Linked DNA regions of Homo sapiens: all the other regions are linked to region 1. The links are contacts of gene promoters, found by promoter capture Hi-C in blood cells and fetal thymus (Javierre and others, 2016). All regions are on one chromosome and are shown on one strand. Each heading gives the region's core, a stretch centred on a gene start or on the middle of the fragment in contact. The rest is flanking DNA. Distances are from core to core; before and after follow the strand shown. Region 1 holds the start of POLG (DNA polymerase gamma, catalytic subunit). Region 2 overlaps RHCG (Rh family C glycoprotein). Region 3 holds the start of ABHD2 (abhydrolase domain containing 2, acylglycerol lipase).

Evidence for each region. Contacts are between HindIII fragments. The CHiCAGO score rates a contact against its expected background, and 5 or more counts as called.
Region 2: a contact is called between a fragment that was not itself captured here and the fragment with the promoter of POLG in region 1, in 1 of 17 cell types (M2 macrophages). The highest score is 5.2, in M2 macrophages.
Region 3: a fragment that was not itself captured here is called in contact with the fragment with the promoter of POLG in region 1 in 1 of 17 cell types (naive CD8 T cells); the score reaches 5.1 in naive CD8 T cells.

The regions. Positions count from the first base shown.
Region 1 is chr15:89,333,574-89,337,446 of GRCh38, reverse strand. POLG (DNA polymerase gamma, catalytic subunit) reads left to right here and starts at 2,623. Exons shown (of 23, transcript NM_002693.3): 1 at 2,623-2,774; 2 at 3,534-3,873. The coding sequence starts at 3,693. POLGARF (POLG alternative reading frame) reads left to right here and starts at 3,638. Exons shown (of 2, transcript NM_001430120.1): 1 at 3,638-3,873. The coding sequence starts at 3,638. It overlaps POLG-DT (POLG divergent transcript), which reads right to left and starts at 2,960. Exons shown (of 2, transcript NR_186332.1): 1 at 2,593-2,960; 2 at 1,286-2,260. TRR-TCG1-1 (tRNA-Arg (anticodon TCG) 1-1) reads right to left here and starts at 2,374; the gene lies at 2,302-2,374. RefSeq lists silencers at 438-607, 2,565-3,164 and enhancers at 1,415-1,464, 1,805-1,874, 1,885-1,984, 2,854-3,355. The HindIII fragment of the contact is 8,583 bases long and covers 1-3,873 here.
Region 2 is chr15:89,470,002-89,474,367 of GRCh38, reverse strand. RHCG (Rh family C glycoprotein) reads left to right here. Exons shown (of 11, transcript NM_016321.3): 10 at 1,505-1,657; 11 at 2,513-2,961. The coding sequence ends at 1,633. Among named protein-coding and RNA genes, the nearest start is that of RHCG, 24 kb to the left of the region's middle. The HindIII fragment of the contact is 7,550 bases long and covers 1-4,366 here.
Region 3 is chr15:89,087,514-89,092,000 of GRCh38, reverse strand. It overlaps ABHD2 (abhydrolase domain containing 2, acylglycerol lipase), which reads right to left and starts at 3,545. Exons shown (of 11, transcript NM_152924.5): 1 at 3,438-3,545. It overlaps LOC124903573, which reads left to right. Exons shown (of 7, transcript XM_047433432.1): 4 at 718-866; 5 at 3,069-3,166; 6 at 3,315-3,933; 7 at 4,060-4,440. The coding sequence ends at 4,274. RefSeq lists enhancers at 2,886-3,405, 3,347-3,526, 4,137-4,487. The HindIII fragment of the contact is 936 bases long and covers 961-1,896 here.

The DNA.
Region 1 (3,873 bases), core at 1,374-3,873:
GTGGGGGGAGAGGTCCAGGGAATTGTGGGAAAATGTAACTGTTTCTCAGGAACCACTATCAAGGACAGACTTTTCTAGAAGGACGTGGGGGAGTTCCTAGAAAAGGAGGCAGGGGAAGTGGAGGAGCTGGGTTCAGAAAGGCCTGGAAACAGGGTGTAGCCTGGCAGGAAGGGTGCAGGCCTCCAGGTACCCTCCCTCAGCAGGAATCAGTATCAACCGTTTTTGTCCTTGTTGAAGATTCTAATTCCAGGACCAGGGCACTAGGCTAGTCTCAAGTAGTCTATGGGAGGAGCAGGCATCTTGATGGACATCTCCTGAGACTGAATCTCAGGAGAGGCCAATCAGGCCCAGCAACAGCAGCCCCTGTGGACAGTTGGGCCAGGGGTTCTTAGCTTTTTTGTGTCATAGACACCTTCTTAGAATAGTGTGTTTCTTTCTTTCTTTTTTTTCTTTTTTTTGTTGTTGTTGTTGTTTTGGTGGGGAGTGGGGAGATGGAGTCTCACTCTGCTGCCCAGACTGGAGTGCCATGGTGCAATCTCGGCTCACTGCAGACTCTGCCCCCCGGGTTCAAGAGGTTCTCCTCCCTCAACCTCCCAAGTAGCTGGGATTACAGGCGTGCACCACCATGCCGGGCTAAGTTTTGTATTTTTTTGGTAGAGATGGGGTTTCGCCATGTTGGCCAGACTGGTCTTCAACTCCTGAGCTCAGGCAATCCATCCACCTCAGCCTCCCAAAGTGCTGGGATTACAGGCGTGAGCCACTGAACCTGGCCTAGAGTAGTGTTTCTGTTTTTAATTTTTTTCTGTGAAATATGTTTTATTAATTTTTATTTCAATAGGGGTACAGGCAGTTTTTGGTTATATGGAAGAATAGTGTTTTTAAGCACATAAAACATGAAGGATTACAAAGGACACCAAAGGTATTCAAATATTAGGACAAATAGGTAAACTTATTAACTAACAGGATCTAGTGGCAGTCTAGTAACCCCTGTTATTTTGAAGTACAGATAAGTGCAAACAAATTTTGAAAAATGTGCAGCACTTGTAATGCGTTATGAAAATATCTGTGGTTGCTGGAGGGGACAAAGTCACAGGCACTGTTAATACCACTGTGGCTGACAGCCTATGCTCATAATTGGAGGAAATGCCAAGTATCAGTAGGCGGTTAGAAGAAACAAGATGAAAATGTTTTCCCCATTCAGGGACTCCCTGATTTAAGCTGAGAGCCTCTCCTTCCAGTATTTTGTAAAAGTCAACAGTTATGTGAAAAAAAAAAAAAAAACAGATGAATTTCTGATTGATTGTATTTTTTTGGCAAAACAAAAAAATCACAAACATTAAAACATTGTGTATATTAAGTACATCTAGAAAAGTGTATGCAAAATATTTCATATTTAAATAGAAGGGACCAGGGCTCAATGCTGCTTGGCCCGGGGCTTCTCTCTACCTCTCCACGTGGCGGGAGCAGGTGAGGGTCGGCATCAGCCCGCAGGGCCGGCGGAGGATTGTTTCCCTGCACCCCACTCCTTAAAAACGCGAAAGTCAACTTCTGTAGTCCGTTCACGGTGTCCTGGGATCCACGCTGGACGGTGGCGGCCGACTTTCAGCTTGACCTGAATTTTATTCCTAATCAGCTGTGTGATCTCGGTTGGTCCCAAACGTCTCTGAGCCTCCCTTTCATCTGTGCAGCTGGGCCTCCAGACCCCAACCCCCAGGCGGTGCTTAATCACGTAGACCTTATTCTGCGTGCACTTTACCACAGTTCACCAACCACCGAGCGCTGAGAGCTGTTGAAGCACCTGGAGCAACACAAGACGGATGCGGAGACTGGAAACAGCTGGGGAAGGGGACAAGCTCCAGCCGCGCTGTGGGCCGGAGGCTAGCATCTGCGGGCAAATTCAGGTTCAACGGAAGGCAACATTTTTACCCCTCAGAATTGCTCTGGACGAGGAGGCAGCACCGGATGGGCGAGGGAGGGAGCCTCGCTTTGGCTGCGAGCCCCAACTCTTGCCAACCATCAATTGAGTATAAATTGAGATTTCTGTACAGGATGCCCCTCCCTCTCCACTTTCCTCCACCTGCGTCGGGGTGCGAGAGACCTGGTACATTTTAGAAATGTGCCTCCGCTGAGACACGTAGGCGGGCAATCTCGCAGGGACTTGCTGGGCGTGGTTACTTCCGCGGATCTTGGCGTTCCCACATCTTTGAAGTGCGGTGGGAATCGGCGGCGACTACGTTCACATTGTCCCAATACTTCGTTCCTGAGGGAGGAATAAACTAAAAGTTAATCATAACCTCCCTTCGACCGCGGCAGGACTCGAACCTGCAATCTTCTGATCCGAAGTCAGACGCCTTATCCATTAGGCCACGCGGCCCGTCGGTTGTTACCGTCTCTTGAGCAACTTATAAAAACGTCACCTCCGCCCACCAGCTAGCTCGGGACCAATCCACCTGCTCCTTGAGAAGGGGAGGTTGGCCTTTGGTTCGCGCGTTCCGCAGGGAGAGCCCACCCAGAAGTCCCCCTTCTCCCCCCGCGGGCGGACCGCTCCATTGGCGGCCCTCCTATTGGTCGCGCTGGGAGTCTCCCGCTTGCCTCTCGGGTAGCCGCGGGACCTAGCTGGGTGCAGACGGGAAGTTGCGGCTGCCAGCGAAGCGGACCGGCCGGGTGGAGGCCACACGCTACCCCGAGGCTGCGTAGGCCGCGCGAAGGGGGACGCCGTGCCGTGGGCCTGGGGTCGGGGGAGCAGCAGACCGGGAAGCACCGTGAGGACCGAGGTTTCCGGCGGGGTCGGCGGCGGGGAGGCCGGGTCGCTGAGCGACGGCGCGGCCCCTCCCTCTCCAGTCAGGGAGCGAGGCCCGGAGCAGGGCGGCGGCTAGTCCCAGGGCGCACCGCGGCGCCTCTGCCGGGCGCAGGCGGGCGGCGGGGCGCACGGGGGTGGCCGCCGACTCCTCCTGCAGGACGCTCTCGGCCGGGTGGGCCGTGGTCCGGGTGTGGGTGTGGGTCCCGGGGGACGGCGGCCCACCCTGCGGGTTCGAATCCGGGCGCTGGCACCTCTCGACGCTAGGCCCGCGCCGGTCGCGGTAATGGCAGCCACCATTTGCCGAGCGCTTGCCAAGAGCAGGGCCGCACGACATAGGCGCCCTGTGTCCCCCAGACAGCAGCCCGGTGTGACAGGCAGAATCCGTAATCCCATTTTACAGAATAGGATATCAGGGCCTAAGGAGCTTTGCCCAAGGTCACACAGCTCGAGAGAGCCAGAAGCGGGGTTCAAAACCGCGTCGCCCTACTCCAGATACTGCTCTCTTACTCGCTGCCCTCGGCTTCCCCACGTGGGTTCACTGACGAAGTTGCGTGGACCCCGGTTCCCCCAGGAGGGGTATTGACGTTTCCCAAGTTTTGAGGCTTAACGGAAAATGCAACTGAAGCGCCTGGCACAGTGTTGGGGACGCAGTAAATGCTCAAGGAATGATGATTATGGATACACCTATTACATATATGGTAAAATAACGCTTTATATCATCTGTCTCCTTTAGGATTTGGGGTGGAAGGCAGGCATGGTCAAACCCATTTCACTGACAGGAGAGCAGAGACAGGACGTGTCTCTCTCCACGTCTTCCAGCCAGTAAAAGAAGCCAAGCTGGAGCCCAAAGCCAGGTGTTCTGACTCCCAGCGTGGGGGTCCCTGCACCAACCATGAGCCGCCTGCTCTGGAGGAAGGTGGCCGGCGCCACCGTCGGGCCAGGGCCGGTTCCAGCTCCGGGGCGCTGGGTCTCCAGCTCCGTCCCCGCGTCCGACCCCAGCGACGGGCAGCGGCGGCGGCAGCAGCAGCAGCAGCAGCAGCAGCAGCAGCAACAGCAGCCTCAGCAGCCGCAAG
Region 2 (4,366 bases), core at 1,167-3,666, 140 kb before region 1:
AAGGGTAATTTTAACTACTATCTACTATAAGGTAACTTCATGCACATAACGAATGTCTCTTAAATTAACTCTTTAAAAATGTTTTTAATTAAAAATGACTAGGCGCTCATTAAAGAAAATCTGGAAATACAGTAAAATAGAAATCCTGTCACCCTATGTCAAGCAATATTAATATTTTCTGGTATATTTCCTTTCTATCTTTTTTCTCTGCATAGATTTTTCTTACACGGTTGAAATTGTATTATTCACCCAATTTAGTATCCGTCTCTTTCTCCTTACCACTCTATCATAAGAATTGTTCTGTGTTATTACATTCCTAATAAACTTTCTTTTCTCACAGGATAATTATTTCTATTCTATATTTAAGAAAGTCAGAACTTAAACTATTTTAGACACCACAATTAGAAACCAACAGATTTTACGCTAACGAAATAAATCAGAAATGTTATCAGTTCCCCCATGTAGAAGTTCCCTCTTGGTTCTGTTTTGATCTTTATAATTTATTCCAAGTTCACACCTCTCAGCTCTATATACCTTGAGCAGTACAGACGTCCCCCAGTAACCTCAGGGGATTGGTTACAGGATCTCTTGCGGGGATGCTCAAGTCCCTGATATAAAATGGCATAGTATTTGCATAAAAGCCTACATGTATCCTCCCACATATTTTAAGTAATCTGTAGATTACTTGTAATACCTAACACAATGTAAATGCTGTATTGTTTTTTGTTTTTATTATTTTTATTGTTATATTGTCATTTTTTGTTGTTGCTTTTTCTAAATATTTTCAACCTGTGATAGGTGTAACCTGCTGATACAAAACCCATGGGTATGGAGGGCTGGCTGTACCTGGTTGGGAATAACAAAATTCTGTGCCAATGGAAGGAACACTATCAGGCAGTCCCTGAGGCCCTGAGTGGTTTACCTTGGGAGTGAGGTGGCTTCTCAGAGGATGGGGATTGGACCAGTGTTCCCCAGGACCACAGATGGGGCAAGGGCAGGGCTGACCTGCCCTGCCTGCCCTCCACCTCTCTACCCACTTCTGGCCTTCCCTGCACCTTCCCCACCCCATTTTCGGACCTGTCTGCAGTTTACAGAGCTTGCCATACTACCTTTTACCGCCTCTGCCCCTTACTCCAATTCATCTTTTAAAAGTGGGTTCAGCACAACTTCTCAGCATCCCCCAGGCTGGGTTATAAGCCTGTTGTGTGCATTTGCAACTCTTACTGTCACTGGGTATTTCACTGCAATGCCTCACCATTGCTCTCATGGGGCAAGGACACTGTCTCCTCCTTGCCATGCCTCAGCACCCAGGACAGTGCCTAATATAGGGTAGGGGCAGGACTCCTGTGTTGAAGGACCACCCTGCTCTCCGTGGCATGTGATCCGCACGGCGATCACAAGGTGGCGCTCGCCACACACCATTTGCAGCTCCAGGTTCTAGTCACCAGGGACACCCTTGCCTGGACTGGGACAGGGCCCTCAGAGTTGCATCCTCTCTCTGTAGATGCCTGAAGGGAACAGCACTGTCTACATCCCTGAGGACCCCACCTTCAAGCCCTCAGGACCCTCAGTACCCTCAGTACCCATGGTGTCCCCACTACCCATGGCTTCCTCGGTACCCTTGGTACCCTAGGCTCCCAGGGCAGGTGAGGAGCAGGTGAGCATGGGCTTGGCTTGGGGGATGACAGGGAGGTTCTCCCAGTGGGGGCCCAGCTCTCAGAATCAGATGTTACTAGCAAAGAGGCAAAAAGCAAACATCAAGAAATGAGGGCTTCCACCCCTCCTGCCTGAGGTGCAGTGGGCACATGGGGTTGGCAGGGGAGCTTCTTAGAGTCAGACAACGTGCATCCAGGACAGACACAGGAACAGGTGAAGGCACAAGGGCCTGGAAGGAATATGGAAGGAGACCTGGGGGCACACTTGGCTTTGTGACTGTGCCTGCTGGTGTGTGACTTTGAGAATCTCTTCACCCCAGAGACTGGGCCTCGATTTCCTCATCTATAAAAATGAAGCTGACACGTCTGGTTGTATTCAGTTGCTCAGCTCAGATGAGACCCACCCTCCCCTCTTTCTTTCCGTCAACTAACACTGTGCCTCCTCTGTGGAATGCACCAAGCCCTTGCTCATGGCTTTCACATCTAACCTTCCCAAGATCTCTACAAGGCAAGTAGAATTACTGCCCTCATTTTAATAGATGAGCAAACTAAGGCTCGGAGAAGTTCAGGTTCTTCAAGATCACACAACTAGCAAGTGGAGAAACTGGGGTCCTTGCTGGTCATTGTTACTGTTTTTATTATTGTTATTTAACTTCCTTGGAGGCCAGAGCTTGGCAATAGCTGGGTCTGGGGCCTGAGTGATGTGGCAAGAGAGGATGTTAGGGTGCCAGGAAAGAGGAAGGTGAGGCTATGCCCAGTTGCCTTTAATGTCCACCCCATCCAGAAAAGAAAATGGTGCCTGAGAGGCTACAGCAGGACCCGGCAGTGACCCGCTGCTCTTGGCTGTCTCCCTGCAGGCTCCACAGACTGTCCTGGGGCCCAGAGGAGCTGGTGCTGACCTAGCTAGGGATGCAAGAGTGAGCAAGCAGCACCCCCACCTGCTGGCTTGGCCTCAAGGTGCCTCCACCCCTGCCCTCCCCTTCATCCCAGGGGGTCTGACTGAGAATGGAGAAGGAGAAGCTACAAAGTGGGCATCCAAGCCGGGTTCTGGCTGCAGAAGTTCTGCCTCTGCCTGGGGTCTTGGCCACATTGGAGAAAAACAGGCTCAAAGTGGGGCTGGGACCTGGTGGGTGAACCTGAGCTCTCCCAGGAGACAACTTAGCTGCCAGTCACCACCTATGAGGCTCTTCTACCCCGTGCCTGCACCTCGGCCAGCATCTCCTATGCTCCCTGGGTCCCCCAGACCTCTCTGTGTTGTGTGCGTGGCAGCCTCCAGGAATAAACATTCTTGTTGTCCTTTGTAAAATGGTGTGAATGCTCCAATGGGGCCAGTTTGAGGGAGAAAAGGACCCAAGAGACCTGCTTCTGCCCCAGCCCTTACCTTCATCCAAGGGTACCACCCACACTGCGAGGAAAGTCATTGCAGGCTGAACAGGCAGAACTTGGGTACTAGAGCCTGCCTTCAGCCTGGGGCACCCAGCAGGGCTCAGCTCTGGGCTGGGGTCTTGCTTCAAGGCCCCTCCATCAGCTACTCCAGAAACTCAGCCCTTGAGAAAGCTGGCATCTCTGTTGTGCCCTCCATGTGGTCCTGCTCTGGGCACTCCAGCAGGACTGCGAGAAGGGAGGGAGGGCTCCTTTGGGCCCATCTCCTCCTCCCCATCCCTTCCCTTCTTTCTCTCTGCCAAGCCAGCCTTCTTTTCCCTGGACAGTGGGGTAAGGTTTCAGGAGGGTAGATCTCCCAGGCTCACCACCACCCTGGGCAGAGTAATACACCTTCCTGCCCTCAGGGGCTCACAGTCTAGCTGGGAGACAGACCTGACCCTCAGAATCCATGCTGAACTCTGACAGGTGTGGCTGGACAGGAAGTCTGTACCCAGTTGGCTTCTCAAAGCAGGGCCACCTGAGCAGGGTTCTGGAGGCTGAATAGGAGTTTACCAGAAGGATGGCAAAGAAACAGCATGGGCACAGACCCATGGGTAGGAATTAACACGGTGAAGTCTGCTACTGGCTAGAAGAGATGTGAGGCAGAAGTGTGCCAGTTGGAGAATAAGACTTGGAATCCGGATCTTTTGTGGAGCAAAGGCTCCTGGGAAGAAGGGGTGAGGGAAAAGGGAGGAGGTCTCTCAGCTTCCAACTCCGCCCTCCCCGCCCCCTTGCAATTCACACACACACACACACACACACACACACACACACACACACACACACACACACACCGCTGCATGCCTCTTACCAGTGCAGGGGGGAGGGGAAGGAGGGATCTGAAATGCAACCTATTCATGTACCCGCGATGTAACACCCCTCATTTTCCATGCTGGGTAAAGACAAAAACCCTTTACAACCTGTTTCTGGAACTTGTCAGCAGCTGCCAAGAGGAGCATGTTAATTAAACGTCGGCAAAGATGGAAGCCGGAGACCCTGGCTCTAATTGGACAGTTTGCTTCACCGGATTGAAAAACATTGTGACAAAGGAGAAGGTGCGCGGCGCTCGGCAGGGGTGCGGCGTGGCGGGGAGGGAGCTGTGGCTTTGATTTCAGCTGATCTGAGCCCCAGCCTCCCTCCCCCAGCAGAGCCGCTTGGCCCAGCCCCATATGCCTATGAAGGGCCTGGGAGGGGCCCGCAGCGTGAGAGGGTGCAGGGTGGCGTGGGGGGCGGGGTGCGAAGGGGTGCTGGGGGGGTGGTTCCTGAAGCCCACCTCCCACCCCTCCCAC
Region 3 (4,487 bases), core at 179-2,678, 240 kb after region 1:
TTAAAAATGTCCTACTCATGCACTGGCCAAAAAGGCTGAACCATGAAAAGCTGCTATAAAATCCTGACACCAGACACATTTAAGAGGCACCCTGAACTTCTCATTGCTCTGTTCCTGGGGATAGCTTAGCCCAAGATGAAACAGAAAGGCTAAAGCAACTCATGCCCCACATCATCTATACTCTGAAACTGGTCATGGAGTACTCAAAACTCACAATGCAATAAAAATGGGAATACTGTAAGCTGTAGGTCATGGTAGAAATTCTGCCACACAAAATTCAATTATATTGGAAATGTCTCTCTCCTGGGGCTTTTAAAAGAGCCAGATTTTAGGCAAAAAATAAGACAGACTCTACCCCTGTCTCCCATAAGACCAAAGAAATTATTTCCTGCTCGGGGCAGGAGCTCTGAACAAGGGCAGTGAGAACCACTACAGAGGTTATGGGTCCTGCCGGAGATTACCAGGAAAAGGCGTAAATGCTTAAAGCAACGAGTAACAGCAAATGAGAAGCTCATCCACCAAAATACTGAGAAAAGAGAGTGAGAAAGAGAGAAAGGGGCCCATATTAATACACAAGCAAAGAAATGAAAACTATTATTCTAAAATGGCTGATCTCTAGAACAGCTTAAACAAAAACCGAAATTCAGAATCAACTCAAGAAAAATAAAGCATGAGAAGGTGCCATTTAATGAAGTGATAATCTTTGGTTCAATCTAGAAAACAAGTAAAAACAGAAGAGAAAATCAAAGGTGACTGGATTCCTGCAAAAAATGAAAGTGGCAGGCATCTTTTCATCAAAAGGGAATTGGCTGGCACACTGAGAGTGCCTATTTGTCAGACCCACGCAGGCGATAAAGGAAATGAAGGTGAGAGTAAAAAGGGAAAAAAGTGAACGACCCTGACTAAAATGAGAGGAAAAAGACCATTCCCTTGTACTTGCCATCTGGTTTATTTCAAGCTTTGGAAAAGAACAGGAAAAACACAGATAAACCAGTGAACCAGCTAGATTGCCAGCACGGATCAGTCACACACTTTTGCTTCTGCCAGGCCAGGCAGGCGCTGCTGGTGCTCCCCCTATTCGAATGACTAAGTAACTTCCTTAAATGCAGTTGACACATGATCCCTGAACTTCCGAAAAGCACTTAATACAGTGGCTCATAAAATCTTAATCTAAAAATGTTCATCCATTTAGAATCAAGCTGCATCACACTCATCGCTTGGGAGGAGGGCTGAAGAGAGGGAATACATATTTGGAAGGACACCATGGACACGGGTATCATCCAGGACTTTACCATTTCGAGGGATTCCCACCCCTCACTGCCTGCTTTTAACGATAATTTTAAAGGGTTCAGAGCCTAAGAAGAATGTAACTGCAAGGGGGAACTAACATAGAAACTAAATTACCTGAATCACAAAAATAAGTAAGGTATAAAATGCAACGTGACTTGGAAACCCCTTGCAGCTGTCTGTGTTAAAATGAAATCTGGAATATGTTAAATGAATTTGGGGGTGGGGGGAAGGGGACTGGGGGAAAAATTAGCTCTTGATAGAGTATTGGGTGGTGGATATGAAGAAAAATGTACAAAAAGGCAACAGAATATCATATCTAGCAAATCTATTGTGCTTACCCTGTGCCAGGTACTGTTCTAAATGCTTCAGATGTAGTAACTCCATGCACTTCTCAAAACAATCTTCTAACATAAGTATCATTATTATTTCTGTTTTAGAGGTGAGGAAACAGAGGCACAGAGAAGTTAAGTAGCTTGCCCAAGGTTGTACAGCCAGTAAGAGGCAGGGCTGGGATTCAAATCCAGGCACTCAGGCACCAAAATCTGTCCTCCTAACCTCTCTGGACTCCCCTAGAACTTAAAACACTGAGAATGGGCAAACTAAGCTTGGAGTGAAATAAGTCATGCACTGGCTAGATCTAAATACAGTCAAGAGATCAACCCTTAGTCATGGGCCTGTGATGACCAACCAGCCCTGTGACCACCCCAGGCCTCAGTTTCCTCACCTGTGCATTGAGGAGACTGAATGAGAGTCCACCTAATTAGACTTAGATAGAGATGAGCTCTATCTAAGGTGCCTTCAGCTCTAAAATGTCACAGTCCGTGCTGACTACCAGCTGTATATGGACTGCTTTCTGACTAGATGTTCAAAGATTAATTCATCCTAAAACACACAGCAAGGTGTGTTAAGATTCTTTCTCTGCCTCCTGACCTTTAGATTATTATGTTCTCTCTATTCCGGCAAATGACAGAGGGTAGTGAAGGATTTCTCTTTTGGACTCTGCTTAATGTGGCTGTAAGGAAACGGCCTTCGAAAAGCTCTGGGCACAGATCTTGTTGACTCTGCCAAACCTGCAGTCTCTCCAGGTCCCTCTGTGGAGCCTGTTCTTGGAACATGCCTTTGGATTTGGTTACTGGAATGCAGGTGAAACTGACAAACTGGAGGTCCAGCAACCAAAAAAGAGAGATTGGGAAGATTAAGAGAGCGGTCCATGGTAGTTCAAATACAAGGAGTTTCACAGTGGCTAAATAAACCTCTATCTTTTTGTATAATCCAGTCTCTTTGCTAACACCCACTCTTGAGAGCTGAAACCTCAAAATTCATTATGGGTGAATTCAACAGCCACTTGGAACCTAATGGACCCCCAGAAGTACTCTTCTCAAGCTAGGCATCAAAGGCCACTTAGAGTGCATTTGTGGGTAGAGAAGGCCCTTACAGATGGGTCATGCAGTCCTCCCTTGGGAGTCCTAAGCATCCGACACAGGTGGCTGTCATCAGGCCACTGCTTGGACATCGCCAAGGTCGAGGCGCTAGCTGCCCGGCCTGGCAGGCAGCCTCCTGCGCTGCTGGACAGCTCTAGCTGTGGGAAAAGCTCACGAAGGGCCTAGAACAGTGCCGGTCGCGGGGCCGAACTCGGTAAATGTGCTTCCAAGTGGGTCAAAAGCTGCCTTTCTAGAACTTAAACCCACTGGTCCTGCGTGAGCCCCTGGAGCCCCGAAACACAGAGGCCTCTCGGGTATCTCGGGCTGTAATCAGGCCCCTCGGCCCTCTCCTTCCAGGTGCGGATCCCGGACCTTCTTCGCCGAGCCTGAACCGGCAGACCCCTCCCCAGGCCCCTGAAGACCCAGGAGTGAGCACCAATGGGGGAAAGGCCGCGGTCGGGGTTGTCCCCAACCTCGGTTCCTCGGGCAGAAGGGGACAAAGGGCCTCAGGAAGGCGTATCCCCCGCCGCGATCTGGGCTGTCCCCACCACTGGGCAAGCCAGCCCCTGGGACCCCCACGGCGCCAGATGACAGGCCCCCCAGGATCCCCTCAGGCTGCGGCGTGATGGGCCGAGCTACGCCGGGGACCTCGGGGCTCGGAGATTCGGTTCGACGGGTCCGGGGTGCGATCCCCGCTCCGCGGAGCTCGCTCGGCCGTGGCTTTACCTGCGTGTGATTGACTACAGGTGCTCAGCTCGCCCCCAGTCTGGTTCCTGCAGCTCCCCGGCTGCCAGCGGCGCTCATGGATATACAGCCGGAACCCCTGGCCAGTGCAGCTCCCGCCGCTACCGGCCCCGCCCAAGTAACTGCCGCCACGCCCCTGACGACCGCTTCTGCCACGCCCCTAACCACGGAAACCGCTTGTTCATTGGGCAGTTCAGCCGCTTCTCCACTTGCCCCGCGCGCTCATTGCGTCTAGGAGGGGATCCATTGATCAGCGAAGCTGTTCCTCAGAGTGGAGGCGGGATTCTTAGGGGAGAGCTCCTCAGCAATTGGTTACATTTGACGGCTTTAGTCCAGGGACCCAGACGCTACTGGATAAGGCCAGCCCGGAGTGGGCGGGGAAAGGGGAGGAGGGCTAGAAGGTGGGTCGTGTTTGATGTCGATGGGGGCGGGGTGAAGAGACGGGTAATTGTGACCGCAAACTGCTTTAGAGGGCTGGGTAAGGTCAGCTGTCGACTGGGCTCAGAGGAATGAGGTCGGCTGGTAGCTCAGCTGCTGGTAGCTCAGCTGGGGCTCTTATGGGTCCAGGCCGACTGACTGACTCACGTGTACTCAAATTTCGCAGGGGTGAAATTTGAGGTCATATCCCGGGAGAGAGGAAGAAGGGTCGTGAGTCACCGAACCCGAAGGAGAGGAAAAGATGTGGAGGCAGCGGTCTATGGCCTCTTCCAGCTCCGGACGGGGGATGGGGACGCTCTGGGCAATACGGGCCTCAGTTATTGTCCCACTGTCCTTTCAACCCTTAACCAACCCAGTTGGAGGCCGCCTGGAAGAATGTAGCCTTGGAACTAGGGCCTGGAATTGGGGCTCCTACCGGTTGTGTGGGCTTGGGCAAGTCACTTAACCTTCCCGCATGCTCCCTTCACTTGGCAACTGAGGGTAACAATAGTAGTTGATGAGAAGATTAAATAAACTCTGATAAATGCCAACAGTGGCTGGCACTCAACAGGCATTCAATCAAGGCTGATTCTTCCCCCATCACCCACTCACCTC